Linked DNA regions of Homo sapiens: region 1 is linked to region 2. The links are contacts of gene promoters, found by promoter capture Hi-C in blood cells and fetal thymus (Javierre and others, 2016). All regions are on one chromosome and are shown on one strand. The core of a region is centred on a gene start or on the middle of the fragment in contact, and the rest is flanking DNA. Distances in the headings are between cores, read along the strand shown. Region 1 overlaps RRS1-DT (RRS1 divergent transcript). Region 2 holds the start of LINC00967 (long intergenic non-protein coding RNA 967).

The links. The method cuts DNA at HindIII sites, captures the fragments that hold promoters and counts their contacts. A CHiCAGO score of 5 or more calls a contact.
Region 1: a contact is called between a fragment that was not itself captured here and the fragment with the promoter of LINC00967 in region 2, in 1 of 17 cell types (M2 macrophages). The highest score is 5.1, in M2 macrophages.

What each region holds. Positions count from the first base shown.
Region 1 is chr8:66,417,694-66,424,999 of GRCh38, reverse strand. It overlaps RRS1-DT (RRS1 divergent transcript), which reads left to right. Exons shown (of 3, transcript NR_040434.1): 3 at 1,218-5,413. The region is part of intron 1 of LOC102724687 (a long non-coding RNA gene); the gene reads left to right. Among named protein-coding and RNA genes, the nearest start is that of RRS1-DT, 7.6 kb to the left of the region's middle. The HindIII fragment of the contact is 4,764 bases long and covers 288-5,051 here.
Region 2 is chr8:66,188,269-66,195,440 of GRCh38, reverse strand. It overlaps LINC00967 (long intergenic non-protein coding RNA 967), which reads right to left and starts at 3,327. Exons shown (of 3, transcript NR_039979.1): 1 at 2,474-3,327; 2 at 2,130-2,183. It overlaps LOC124901954 (a long non-coding RNA gene), which reads right to left. Exons shown (of 2, transcript XR_007060948.1): 2 at 6,480-6,609. The HindIII fragment of the contact is 5,384 bases long and covers 535-5,918 here.

The DNA of each region.
Region 1 (7,306 bases), core at 1,420-3,919, 230 kb before region 2:
CCATCAGGTAGCCCTGTCCACGCAGCCATCTTCCTCCTGCTCCTCTAGCTGCTCCCTTGGTTGCTGCAGGCCTAGGAGTGATTATAGTTCTCTGCTAATGCAGCACTACCGTTATTGTCAGTTTCCTTAAACTGCCCACATCTCTGCAAGTATTCTTTGTTTATCTTTCTTAAATTACCCAGCTTGACCACTGCCTGTTTGCTGCCCTGACTGATATCCTGGGAACCATCCTAGGAGCATCCCAACATTTCCTGCTTCCATACTCTTTTCAGGGCAGTCCTGAAGCTTTACCTTTTGTGCATCTGGCCAAATCACTCTTCTCAAAGACCCTCCTTTCTCCTTAATGAAATAATGACTATTCTTGGTCTTGGATGTTTATGATCTGGCCCCAAGCAACTTTTTTTGTAGTCACATGTCATGATAGTCCTCCTTATGCTTGTTTTCCAAGTATTTCTTTCCCACTCTTATTTTCTATCTTAGCTCTCTCTAGAGCCTTAAGAACATTCCTCAAGAAAGGGAAAAGTGAGGTGAGGTGCAGGGCAGAAAAAGCAGCAATTATTGTAAAGTGAACCTGGAAGGGAGAGTTTTTCCCAAAGCAGGAATAAGAAGGTTAAAGCCATGAAAGCAATACCTTTCATGTTCCCTCAAAACATAACTACTTTGGTCAGTAAAACATTTTTGTAAGAAATTTCCTTTTCATTCTTTGATGCCACATTAACTTGGATTTACTTTCTAAATGTCTGTTTTTTCAGTTGCCTCTTTTTGGTAGCGGAAATTGTTAGGGATGATTCAACCATTCTTTAATCCTGCTGTGAGCATAGTTTATAAAAGTATTTTTGTCTAGGAAATTCAGTGTGCCAGTAATTTGATAAAATAGGAGAAAAGGGCCCTTGAAATGCTTACATTATTTCCACATGGCTCATTTTTACTGATTTGAGATTTTAATTTGGAAGTACTTAAAAGAAAAAAATTTCTTAATCATAGACAAAACTTGTATTTATGTATTTCAGTCTTAGTGAGAAACCTGTACTAAAAGTTTATTATTTTATTTTAAAGAGGAACAAAGAAGATACAGCATTTTGTGTAGTTAATGTAGAAGCAGATAGAAAAACGACGAAATATTGTACATTCACCTATAAAGAACTTTGGATTTTAGGATAGTAAAATTGATGGTAGACTTTTGGAACTGATTTAAGTTGTTTTGGTCTCTGTTGCAGGGTGAAAATGCTGTGATACCTTTCCTCAGCCCTCAAAAGGGTCATGGCTGCCGGGAGTGGTGGCTCATGCCTATAATCCCAGCACTTTGGGAGGCCGAGGTGGGCAGATCACCTGAGGTCAGGAGTTTGAGACCAGCCTGGCTAACATGGCGAAACCCTTTCTCTACTAAAAATACAAAAATTAGCCAGTCGTGGTGGCGGGCGCCTGTAATCCCAGCTACTTGGGAAACTGAGGCAGGAGAATCGCTTGAACCTGGGAGGTTGGAGGTTGCAGTGAGCCGAGATTGGGCCACTGCACTGCAGCCTGGCCAATGGAGCATTTCAAAAAAAAAGAAAGAAAGAAAGAAAAAGGAGGGGGGTTGTCATGGTTGACACTCCTATAATGAAAGACAGGTTAACAAGACAAAAGCACGGCAAATTTATTCAGTCAGAATTTTGCGTGACACGGAAGCATTCACAATGAAGACTCAAAGACCCAAGGGAAAACTGTCCATTTTTATGCTTAGATTCAATGAGGAGTGGACAACCATGTAAAAATGGGATTGGACAAAAAGGAAATAATCTAATGTAATAGATTGAAGGGGAACAACCCAGCAAGGCCTGACTATTTGGATTCTTCTTGGCCTCTCTGTGTGGCATTCCTTCCTCCCTGGTATAGAGCAGGACCCCTTCTGGAATAAGGGTTTTATGATCTACTATCAGACAAGGTAGACCAGAGAATTTCTTTATGGCCAGCTCATATGCAGAAAGGCAATGGAAGTTGAGAGAAATATGTTTAGTTTCTATGACCCACTGTGGGGCAGAGGAATTCTGATTTCTATGGCCTGCCTTAGGGTAGAAGGGGGACCAGGAGACAGGAGGGCAGGAGAAGCCCAGAGAGAGACTTTGTTTCTAGGGTCCTTCCAGTATCCTTCGGCTCAAAGTACTCAGCATATCAAAGCACCTTACTTTGGGGCATTGTTTTTCTGAGCTCCAATGCTGTAAAAGACACAATGGTTTTTATTTTCCAAAAATTGCTAGATGCAGCTTTTTGCATTTGCCACAATCTTATTACCACCTGTAAGTAAGCACCACTAGCTGATAGTTTTTATTCATAAAACATCATCATTGTATCCTAAGAGAATGAGATTGGTATTGGTCTTTAGATTTTACTTCTATAAGCAGATCAGCTACATGGATGAAAGACTGATATAAAATGGAAAGCTGAATTTCCAGAATTTTAGGGATATTTGCACTCAAAGAATCTAATAACAGAATATTTAGATCTGCTTATTAATCTATCATTTTAATTACATTTTAATTTATGAATTTAAAGTTACAATGAGTAAAAAATCCTTTTAGGTTTTTATTAATCAGTAACACCTGAACAGTTTTTGTAAATTGCTTTAGAGTAGATTTACTCCAGACGAGGCAGCTGAGTCCGGAATACCTTTCCCCTAAGGAAAGCAACCTTGTTGCCATGCAGCCTTCAATTTGCCTTTGTAGTCATAGACCATGTATGAAATATCAATCCTTTCTAAATGAAGTGACTGCCAATCAAATCTTTCTTTTAAACTTCCCACTAGAGCAATATTAAGAATACACAGGGAAGTTATGAAGTTGTGATTATGCCGAATAAACACAAATTCCTGGCCCTTCTTAACCATGAATTATTTCTAAACATTATTAACCCATTATTTTTTAGAACACATCCGTGAAAAGTGAAAACAATGGATAGAAAAACCAAAACTCTGACCACATATGTGGTCAGTTCTGTAGCCTACACTTTTCCTTTTTGAAGTGTTTTTATTTGCCAAAGGAAGACAGCAAAGGAAAGAACCTCTTAGTGGCAAGTAGGTGTCACTGTGTACTTGTCAGCCACTGAGAGTGCACCAGTCTTGTCAGCTCCCTGGGCCGCTTGGGGATGCAGAAGATTCAGTTGCTTGTAGCATAGGTGCTTTCCCCCAGGCCTAAATAGGACTTATTTAGAATGTATAAATAATGTTCCTTGCATTTCCTAATGTTTATTTCCCTTGCCTCATTATCCAAAATACTGTGAATTTTTAGCTGAGGAAGCTGACTTCTTATGGTGTATCCTGGATTTTCTTCCCTGGAAAGCCTGTGAATTTCAAAGGAAACAAAGTTTAGGTCTCAGGCTTCCCCTTATTTATCTTGAGAATGAAGGGTTTTGAAGAGGTGGCCTTTGCAATTCATCTCTATGATCCTTTTCTTTTGTTTCAAACCTACATACTTCAGGTGCTCCAATGTTGTTTTCTTATAAAGTGCTTTCTTTCCTAGTTGTTGATTAAAGTTTTTTCCAGTATATCTCATTTTACAAACCTCCCCCTCTTTCTGAGTCATTTATCTCATTTCCTAGGCTGATTGTATGATTTCACTTAGTGAAACAGCTTCCTGTGTGCACAAGGAGTCTGTGACTATACAGATGTCAATCAGTTTTTAATTATGTGGAGGCTGATTATTGTGTTTCATAGCTTATTTGTAATTCTTTTCTTTTTTCTTTGCTTGCCCTTAAAGAGAGAATGGGCAGCGTATAGTCCATTTTATTGTTTGTTACTTGTTCTGGAAAAATGTCATAGAGAAGAAGATAGAGGAGATATTTATAAAATATTTATGTTTATAAAGTTGAATCTGAGAATGGAAAGATTGTGGATTGACTATCTCTTTTCTAGCTCAAGATCTAGAACTGATGATGTCCTTTGATTGTTACAGTTACAGACAAGTTTTAAAGACAGCTTCAAAATTACCTTCCCCAAATAATAACATTGGGACAGGTTTGTGCTTCCTAGTTTGATATTGCTTCAGAGAAAGTTAGTGAGGAAATGTTAATACAAGGAAGTAAAGTAAAAGAAAACAAAAACCAAACACTACTAGTATGTTTAGTAATTATTATTCTGAGTATGAGTCTTGGGACTTTTGGCCTGATTACCTGGAGACAAATTCCCTAAGGGATCATCACCCCACCTGAAAAATGGGCTAACATGATTTCTTAGTTTTAGAGTTCTGTGAGTTGGAGATTAGTTCATCAAGCACACTTGCAAAGAACTCTATAGGGGTAGTCAGGAGACAGCCTCCAGCTCCATCTCTGTCACTCCATAGTTGTATATGGCTTTGGCCAGTCACTTTATCTCTCTGTGAATTTCCTTATGTATGAAGTGAGCTTCACCAGCTTCTCTCTGTGCCTCTTCCAGCTCCTTGTTAGCTGTCCGTACTTTTGTTAAGATGGCCTCAGGAGAACAGGGTAGGTGATGGTGAAGCATAGACTTGAAGTCAGATGTTTGTAATTGGGGTTCCATGGGTGAGCTTCAGAGGGACATGAATCCCTTGAAGTTTTATGCAAATGTGTGTATGCATGTGCATTTTTATGAATAGAAGATTTTTTCCCATCAGATTCTCAGTGGCATCTGTGACTCCCTATCCCTCTTTCACAAGGTTAAGAACTACTGTATTGTAGGAGAGGGAGATAAATGAAGGCTGGAGGGAGTAACTGGTGAAGGCTTTATGAAAGAGGAAGTTCCTGAGTTGGCTTTGGAGCCTGAGTTTTAATAGATAGGAGAAGGAAAGGAGCATTCCAGTAGATGGTAACAATATGAATAAAGGGATGTAGCTAATTCTTATGGCAAGTATAATATGTCAGTCACTGATTGTCTTTATAAATCCCACAACAGGCCTAAGAGGTAGATGTTATCAATATCCTCATCTTATAGATGAGAAGACTGAGGGTCATAAAGATTAAGTTATTAAGTTACTATGCAGTTAATAGTTTGTAGAATCAGGATTTGAACCTTTGCAGTCCGATCTCAGAGTCCATGCACATAAACACTACATCATAAAGCTTCTTCTTTCTGGTTCACTAGCAATTTGATTTGCCTAGAATAGATGATTTGTATTGGGGACAGGTAAGAAATAGGCTTGGCAAATGGTCAGGATGGTGCCAACTGTGGTGCAACTTTAGGATCAAGAAGAAGAATTTCAATTTGATGCTATAGGCAATAGGGAGTCATGGAAGGTTTTAGACCAGTGAAGACATAACCACAATGGTATTTTCTTAACTTTATTATTTAAATCTTCCATGTTCTTACTAATTTTGTGTTTTCTTGATCTATCAGTTACTGAAAGATGTGTTGAAACTTTCTACTTTGATTATAAATTCCCATTCTGTATTTGATGCTCTAATATTAAAAGCATAACATTTTGAATTGCTGAATCTTCCTGGTGGTGTTTTCCTTTTATCTTTTTATTATAACATAGCGAACATCTTTATTCCTGAAAATGCTTTCAATGACACTATAGCTATATTGTTCTTGGTTAGTGTGTACCTGGTACATCTTTTTTCATTTTTTTGTTTCCAACCTCTTTGCATCCTTTTGCTTTAGCTATATGTCTCTTTAAGCAATATATATCTGAATTTTGTTGTTGATTTGTTTTTTATATGAAAACTGCCAATATCTGACTTTTAATTAATACAGTTAGATTATATTTATTGTAATTACTGATGTATTGAATTTATTTCTATCTTATTTTGTGCTATCTGTCTACCTGGACTTTTCTATTTCTATTTTTTCCTCTGCTCCTACATTTTAATAGCTCGCTTGAGTTTTCTTTTACATTTTAACCTTAACTTCCTATGGTTTGGAAATTTCTATCCTTCTGGGGTGATCCTTTAAGTGTTGACAGCATAATTGACTTAAATCTAAAGTTAAACAACTTTACCCTTCTCCTATCAAATATATGAATTTTTGAATGGTTTAACTCTGACGACACTCTTTTTCATAAACACTACTATTTTCCTGAGTTTTAGTTCCATCTTGTTTTTAGGCACTACAGATTAATCATCTTCAAAACACTATTTTATATAGTGAAATTTGGACATATGGTTATATATTTCTTTGCTCATCACTCCTTACATTTCGGCCCTTCCTTTTTGGTTCATTTTCCTTCTTCCTGAAACACATCTTTTAGTAGTTTTGTTGGTGAGGGTCAATTAGTAGTAAACACTTGTAGTCTTTGTTCCTGTGGCTTTATTTCACCCTCACTGTTGAATGGTAAGTTGGCTGGATTTGAAATCCAGGCTGCCAGTTTTTCTTTTTTGTTTTTTGTTTTTTTTCAGTTCTTTGAGGATATTATCCCATTATCTTTTGTTTTATTTTGTTTTGTTTTCTTGCTGCTGCTAAAAAATCTGTCAGTTGAATTGTCATTCCATGTAGATTACTCCTATGTTAGATGCAGAGATGTGCCTCCCAGATCCCTCTTCCAGGAGGCACTTCCTGTCCAGATGGGGAGGACTGTGACCATCACACAGCCTCTACCTGTCAGCTCTTTTCAGATCTGTCTCAGCTGCAGAGAACTGCTTCCCCTGAACTCATGTTCTATGGAATACCTGCCTTCTGCAACTGAGCGTGGCAGGGATAGACAGACCTGGCCACCCGTTTCAGCCCAGTGCAGGACACTCTGAAAGGTTACTCTTTCCTCTGAGCTCCCTGCTGGGTTGGCTGAGGCCTTGTCAGGCCACATCACAGTGTGATTTCTCCCTCTGCTCAGTTCTCCTTCCACCCTTTTCCTCTCCTGGGAGTTGATCCCTAATAAACATTTTGCACCCAAAACTCTATCTCATTGTCTACTTACTTCTGTTTTCTCTGTGGCTTCATCCAAGGTCTTCGCAGTGTCTTCGGGTTCTGTGGTTTCACCAAAATAGTTCTAACTGTGGATTTCTTTGTATTTACCATACTCAGGATTTCTCTTTCCTGAACCAGAGGGTTTATGTCTTTCATTAACATTATTAGTCTTTCTCATTTTGAGTATTTGCCCTGCCATTTCTTTTTTCTTTTTCAGGAATATGAATAAATACATTAGGCCTTTGTTTTGCTTTGTTTCTGTGTGCTGTCTTCAGGGTACTCCCTCAGGTTGGTTTCCCAGTTCACTAATTTTCCCTTCATATTTATATTAACTGCTTTGTAAACTATCTATTGAGAGCCAGGTGCAGTGGCTCACACCTGTAATCCCAGTGCTTTGGGAGACTGAGATGGGAGGATAGCTTGAGGCCAGGAGTTTGAGACCAGCCTAGGCAGCATAGTGAGACATCATTTCTTAAA
Region 2 (7,172 bases), core at 2,078-4,577:
CTGACACTTATGGAAAATAGAAAGAACCTATGTTGAAATATTGGGAGCGGGTTCCCCTGATACCTCTTGTTCTTAACATGCCTTGATGTTCTTGCTCTGTCTTCAGTCCTTACCATTGTTCAGATAATGTGAACTGCACTTAGAAATCACTTAACTTTTCCAGAAGCCAAAGTAAGGACATCACGTACATCTACGCATTTAATCCTCACAGCAATACCTCTATGAGGTAGGTCCTGTTTTCCTCATTTCACTAATGAAGAAACTGAGACACAGAGAAGTTCCATGAGCTACGTAGCCACATAACTAATAACCCATAGAGCTGGGATCTGGATCTGGGAAGGCACGGGTCTGTTCATCAAGCTGTTTGACAGCTTCTTTGGCACCTTGGGCTGCTCCCAGCGGACCCACCTTAGTTGGAAGATTTCTGACTGGTGTCTGTGTCCTTGCCATCCCAGCATTGTACCTGGCACACAGTGGACACCCAATATGCTCATTATCATCTTTATTTGACATGTCCATCTAGCCCAACAAGCTTGAGTGTGTTCTCTAAAATATACATCCTCCCATGTATTTTCCCTGTTAAAAGCCCTCATTGACTCTGTCCACCAAGAACCACATCTCAGGTTCAGGAGCAGGCCTTTGCTGACATGTCTAGCTTTACCTGTGAGAGCTTTCCTGTGTGCACAACTTCATACTCTCTAGGAAACCACTTGTAGTTTCTGGAACACTGGGAACTTCCTCACAGCTTTGCTTATGTTGGGAGCACTCTGTCTAGAATGAGCCCCGTTCTGCTGCTCGTTGGCCAGCTCCTGATCCTCTTTCCAGTCTCATGGCAGGCATTGCCTCCTCTGGGAGCTTTTCTCGAACCCTTCCTCCTTCCCCGACCAGAGGTAGATTCCCTCCTCTGTACCTGCAGAGTGCTCACCATAAATGTTGTCTTTAATGCTTCTTCCTCCAGTGGGCAGAGGATACCTCAAAGGCAGCAGGACATTCACCTATTCATTTTTATCTTCACCTCTAGCACAGGCTCTAGGGCATAGTAGACGCTCAGTAAATGTTGGGGTTGAGTAATAACTGTTTTCAGTACTCTCTGGCTGGTTGGCATTCAGAGGTCAGAACCTAAATTGGGGCCTTTCTCTGGATACAAGTGTATCAGCTGAGGGAAAAGTTACAGAAACAGAAGTCACCTGTGTCAGGTTGACTTTGGCAGGGTAACCTTTGCTGCCTGGCAGTCCCTTGGATAATATAAGAAAATTTTGGCAAAACAGTGTTACCTGTGCTTGGCTTTGAGAATCCTCCCAAATGGTGGAGAAATAAGAAGCAAGACTCACAGCAAAGGCAGAATGCTAATCAGCTCCCTGTGTCTTGTCTTGTGTTGGAAGAAAAAGAATCATGCAAATGTTGCCTAATTGTTTACTTCATTATGTGAGCTTGTTCCTCACCTCATTATGCACAGAATTTGCAAGTTGCTTTCTACCTTCCTCCCATTTCAAATAGCTGATCTGAAACTTCATCAAAGATTCATATTAATTAGCAAGGCTCCATATAGCAAATATTAATTTGGAAACTGATGTGAGGCATCAACATCAACTTATAACATCCATTATAGAACGAGAAAGTGCAAATCTTTCCCAGGCCCTAAGATGTGGGGAGGTTTGGCTCTATTTTGAGGATCTGCATAAGCACATTTGTTAGTAGGTTGTAACCATTGCTCCTGGGAATGGCCCCACTAAGGATGGACAGAATGGATGTTGAGCATGGTTTTTACAGAAGAGGTGTAAGGATTAAAATTGATGAAGGAAACCCAGCAGCAAACAGAAGAATTACTATGGATAATGCTCAGGTAAGTTTCCAGGGATGCTCTGGCTGAGCCTGCTGGTTTAGTCTTCTCTTGAACAATATGAGCATAAACGGTGAATATTCCTCATGATCACACCTTGTAGTCAGTGCTGAGGGAAGAGGCAAGCTGGTAGCATGGCATACATATGGGGTTCTCCCTTCACAACCATGTGATACTGTCCCACCCCTCCCCAGATTGAGAAGGAGGAGAGAAAGGGAAAGGAGGGGCTCTTTGGGAACCCCAACACCCCTCCACATATCAGCTGGGAGACATCAGCCAAGTTACTTACCCATTCTGAGCTCCGCTTCTTCTTCTATGGAATGTGGATAATCACTTCTACTTCCTAGCAGAGTTCCAAGAGAGAGGATGAGAGAAAAAAAAAAAAAGAAAGAAAGAAAAGACATAAAACTTCTAGAAGAATCATAAACAAGAGAAGCCATGATTGCACTTTTTTTGACCAAAAGAGAAGGAGCTGTAGTGCCCCAGAGTTCCCAGAGGAAAAGTCTCAGTGGTTAGTTCTGAGAACTGCTTAGCCCCTTTTAGTTCCTGTATTGGTCAGGGTTCTCTAGAGGCACAGAACTAATAGGACAGATGTGTACATGAAGGGGAGTTTATGAAGGAGTATTGACTCACATGATCACAAGGTGAAGTCCCACAATAGGCCGTCTGCAAGCTGAGCAGCAAGGAAGCCAGTCTGAGTCCAAAAACCTCAAAAGTAGGGAAGCTGACAGTGCAGCCTTCAGTCTGTGGCCGAAGATCTAAGAGCCCCTGGCAAAACACTGGTGTAAGTCCAAGAGTCCAAAAGCTGAAGAACTTGGAGTCTGATATTCAAGGGCAGAAGGCATCCAGCACAGGGGAAAAGTGAAGGCCGGCAGACTCAACACGTGTTCTTATCTTATTTTCCAACTTCGGCCAGCTTTTATTCTAGCCACACTGGCAGCTGATTAGATGGTGCCCAACCAGATTGAGGGTAGGTTAGCCTCTCCCAGTGCACTGACTCAAATGTTACCTCCTTTGGCAACACCCTCACAAACACACTCAGGAACAATACTTTGCATCCTTCAATCCAATCAAGTTGACACTCAATATTAACCATCACAGTTCCCCTGGAAGATTTCTGATAAAACCCCAGCAGATACAAATGTGATTGGCATTTTTGTATTTCGTAAAAAACCTAAAACCTCAATTTTCAGCCATTGTTAATGTTTATTCTTCATCTTCTTCTTGGTTCTTAGTCAACTACTTTGCTCAAAGAACCTAGGGGCTTAGTATTGGAGAGTTGATGTGGCTTCAGGGGCTTGACACTGCTTTGGGGATGTGAATGAAACTTGCATGGACACAAGGGCCCTACATTGAGCTATCTCTTTCTTGGTGCCCCCAACCCCATTCTGACCAGGCTCACCTCACTCACTCAGCACCAGGGGGTCAGCCCATATGTGGGAGAATGAGTGCCTCACCAGTACAATGCTCTTTGATCAGGAGCTGCCTCCATGATTAGATGCAGAAATGACAGCAGGAAGGAAACAACAGCTCTTTTAAAGAAATCCAAACCACCCAGCCTCAGGCAGTTTGGTGAAGAAACTTCTCTTTCCCCCGTCCATGAAGAGTTCAAGGGCCCAGGAAGGTGGCTTTTTAAAAAGCACTCCAAAAGCCAAGTAAATATATCTGTGCATTTTCTAAACTAAGACCAGTGGAGTGACATACTGTTTGTAAGTGCTTGAAGGGTATAAACTTTAAAAAGCTGAGAGGGAAGGCTGAAGGGCTGCAGAAGAAACTGTATCTTAGAGTATCTAGTGGAACAAGATGAACACAAAATTATCAAGGAAATTAAGTCTGGAAGAGGCCTGCTCATCTGGGGCTGGCCTCCTGGGAAGGCATGAAGACAGCTGTATCTGTGCTGTCCCCATCTCCTTGTTGCAGGAAGTCAGGGACCCTGAATGGAGGGACCAGCTGGAGCCACAGCAGAGGAACATAAATTGTGAAGATTTCATGGACATTTATCAGTTCCTAAATAATACTTTTATAATTTCTTATGCCTGTCTTTATTTTAATCTCTTAATCCTGTTATCTTCGTAAGCTAAGGATGTACGTCATCTCAGGACCACTGTGATAATTGTGTTAACTGTATAAATTGATTGTAAAACATGAGTGTTTGAATATGAAATCAGTGCACCTTGAAAAAGAACAGAATAACAGTGACTTTTAGGGAACAAGGGAAGACAACCATGAGGTCTGACTGCCTGCGGGGTTGGGCAAAAACAGCCATATTTTTCTTCTTGCAGAGAGCCTATAAATGGATGTGCAAGTAGGAGAGGTATCACTAAATTCTTTTCCTAGCAAGGAATATTAATATTAATACCCTGGGAAAGGAATGCATTCCTGGGGGGCAGTCTATAAATGGCCGCTCTGGGAGTGTCTGTCTTATGCTGTTGAGATAAGGACTGAGGTATATCCTGGTCTCCTGCAGTACCCTCAGGCTTATTAGGGTGGGGAAAATCTCTGCCCTGGTAAATTTGTGGTCAGACCAGTTCTCTGCTCTCTAACCCTGTTTTCTGTTGTTTAAGATGTTTATCAAGGCAACACGTGCATAGCTGAACATAGACCCTTATCAGTAGTTCTGCTTTGCCTTTGTCCTGTTCCCTCAGAAGCATGTGATCTTTGTTTTGCTTTTTGACCTTTGAAGCACATGATCTTTGTGCCTACTCACTGTTTTACACCCTCTCCCCTTTTGAAATCCTTAACAAAAACTTGCTGGTTTGAGCCTCAGGCAGGCATCATGGTCCTACCGATATGTGATGTCACCCCTGGCAGCCCAGCTGTAAAATTCCTCTCTTTGTACTCTTTCTCTTTATTTCTCAGCTGACTGACACTTATGCAAAATAGAAAGAACCTACGTTGAAATACTGGGGGTGGGTTCCCCCCATATCTCAAGCTGGAGAAAAAGAGGATCCTCCAGAGATCCAATCAGGGAGACAGACAAGATTAGTAAAAGGGGAGTTTTAAAACTTATGATGAATAATTCTTTTCTATTACCCTGACCTTAGAAAGAGAGACCAAGAATGGAGTGATAGTAAGGTCATCCAGAAGCAATTAAGTTATAGATAATTGTAATAATAAAAAAAGAATTTCCAGCCAGTTTGCTATGAGTAATAACTCATGTTACCTTAGGAGAATCTGACAGGTCCCTAACAGCCTGTGGTATAATCAAGGCTCCCACCAGGAAGTGATGATGGACTTATTAATCATGAAAGGAAAAAGGTATACATATACTCTTGAATTTTACTTTTAATTAGCAGTTCATTACCAATTACTAATTACTTAATTACTAATCATTTTTAATCATTGTTTTTAACCTCTCCTTAAGATGCAAAATTCCCCTTTAAGTGTACCTGTTTTCAGTTAAATTAATGAATTAGACTAAGAATAGGGGTTTCAACAAGGAACTAGTTCTTAAGTGAGCATTTACTAAGAAGAGAAACATTAGCCAAATGGATAATTCCCATAGCAATGGCCTTATTCCTAAGTAAAAACATAGCTTTGTTTGAATAAACATGGAGGAACTTACACATAAAATATATATTGTGTAAGTGAAAAAAAAACAGTCAGAAAAGGCTCCATACTGTGTGATTCCAACTGCATGTCTTTCTGGAAAAAAGCAAAATTACAGAAACTAAAAGGATGAAAGGTTGGCAGGGGCTGAAGGGAGGAAGGGATGAATAGGGGAAGTGCAGGGGACAGTTAGGGCAGTGAAACTCTTCTGTATGATACTGTAATGGTGGATACATGAGACAATGCATTTGTCAAAGCTCACAGAATATAAAATGCCAACAGTGAACCCTAATGGAAACCATGGGCTTTAGTTAATAATAATGCATCAATATTGGCTCATCAATTGAAACAAATGCAAGATGTTAATAATAGGGGAAAACTAAAGGGAGGGGTGGTATGGGGTGGGGAGAAAGAATCTCTCAGAACTGTCTACTTTCTGCTCATTTTTTCTGTCAATCTAAAATCACTGTTATAAAATAGTCTATAAATTGAAAAAAATAATCTTCAATCAACTAGGTGGCTGAAAGCTTCTAATATTAGAAGAAAAACCTAGTGAGTATATTTATCTTATTCTTTTATTTCATTAATAAACACTTATTGTGACTGAGCACAGAATGGTAGGCTTGGAGGACCTGAGATTAGACAGAGTTGCCACCTTCAACAGTACCAAGCAACACATCATTACCCCAACAACAACGACAAATGTTTATTGAATACTTATAACTAGGCCCTGAGTGCACTATCTCATTTACTCCCACAAGAGAAACAAATAAGGGGACTTACATTTTATACTGGTTTGACAAAAAAAAAAAAAGGAAATGAGTTTGGAAAATTTAAATAAATTGCCCAAGGTCACCCAGCTAGAAAGCAAGAGTCAGACCTGTATTCAGGTAGCTTGACAAATGTCATACTTAGAAGTCTAGTGTGTCCCCACAGAAAAGTGTTGTAAAGCTGCTTTGAAGTGCTTTGTTTTTAGTGAAATATTTAAGTAAAGATATTAGAACAAATTCCATTACAGACAAGAATCAGATATGCTGCTTACCTTAATCAGTTCGGGCTGCCAAAAAAAAAAAAAATACCATAGACTAGGTGGCTTCAATAACAAACATTTATTTCCCACAGTTCTGGAGGCTGGGACATCCAAGATCAAGCTGCCAGTGGATCCAGTGTCTGGCGAGGGCCTTCTTCCTAGTTTGCAGATGGATGACTTCTCACTGTATCTTCACATAGGCAAGAGGAAGAGAGATCATCTCTTCTGTCTCTTTTTATAAGGGCACTAATCCCACTCATGGGGTTTCCACCCTCATGACCTAATTACCTTCCAAAGGCCCCACCTCCAAATACCATCACATTGGGGATTAGGCTTCAACATATGAATTTTGGGGACACACAAACATTTAGTCCAAGGCACTGTCCTACTTCAAAAAGCAGAATAGCACTTTTATAGAATAAATCTATCAGGTTATATAATTGTATTTCTCCATTCAAATAAAAAACATCCCTTTATTACAAGTATCATTTTCTCTGGAAAGATAAAAGTACATTAGCACAAGGCAGAACTTTATAGCTATTAGGAATTACAGTACAAAGAAAACAAGTTGAAAAATGAGGTGAGGGTCAAATATGTATCTATATTTAACTTTATATAAATTGGAGAATTAAACATCACTGCTGCTTTGCGCGGTTAAGTCTTTTCCTATTATCCTGGCAATGTTGTTGCTCAGATCACTCCTAAAATGCAAAAAGAATAGTGACTGTGGAAAATCAGATCCTTTCTTTTTCA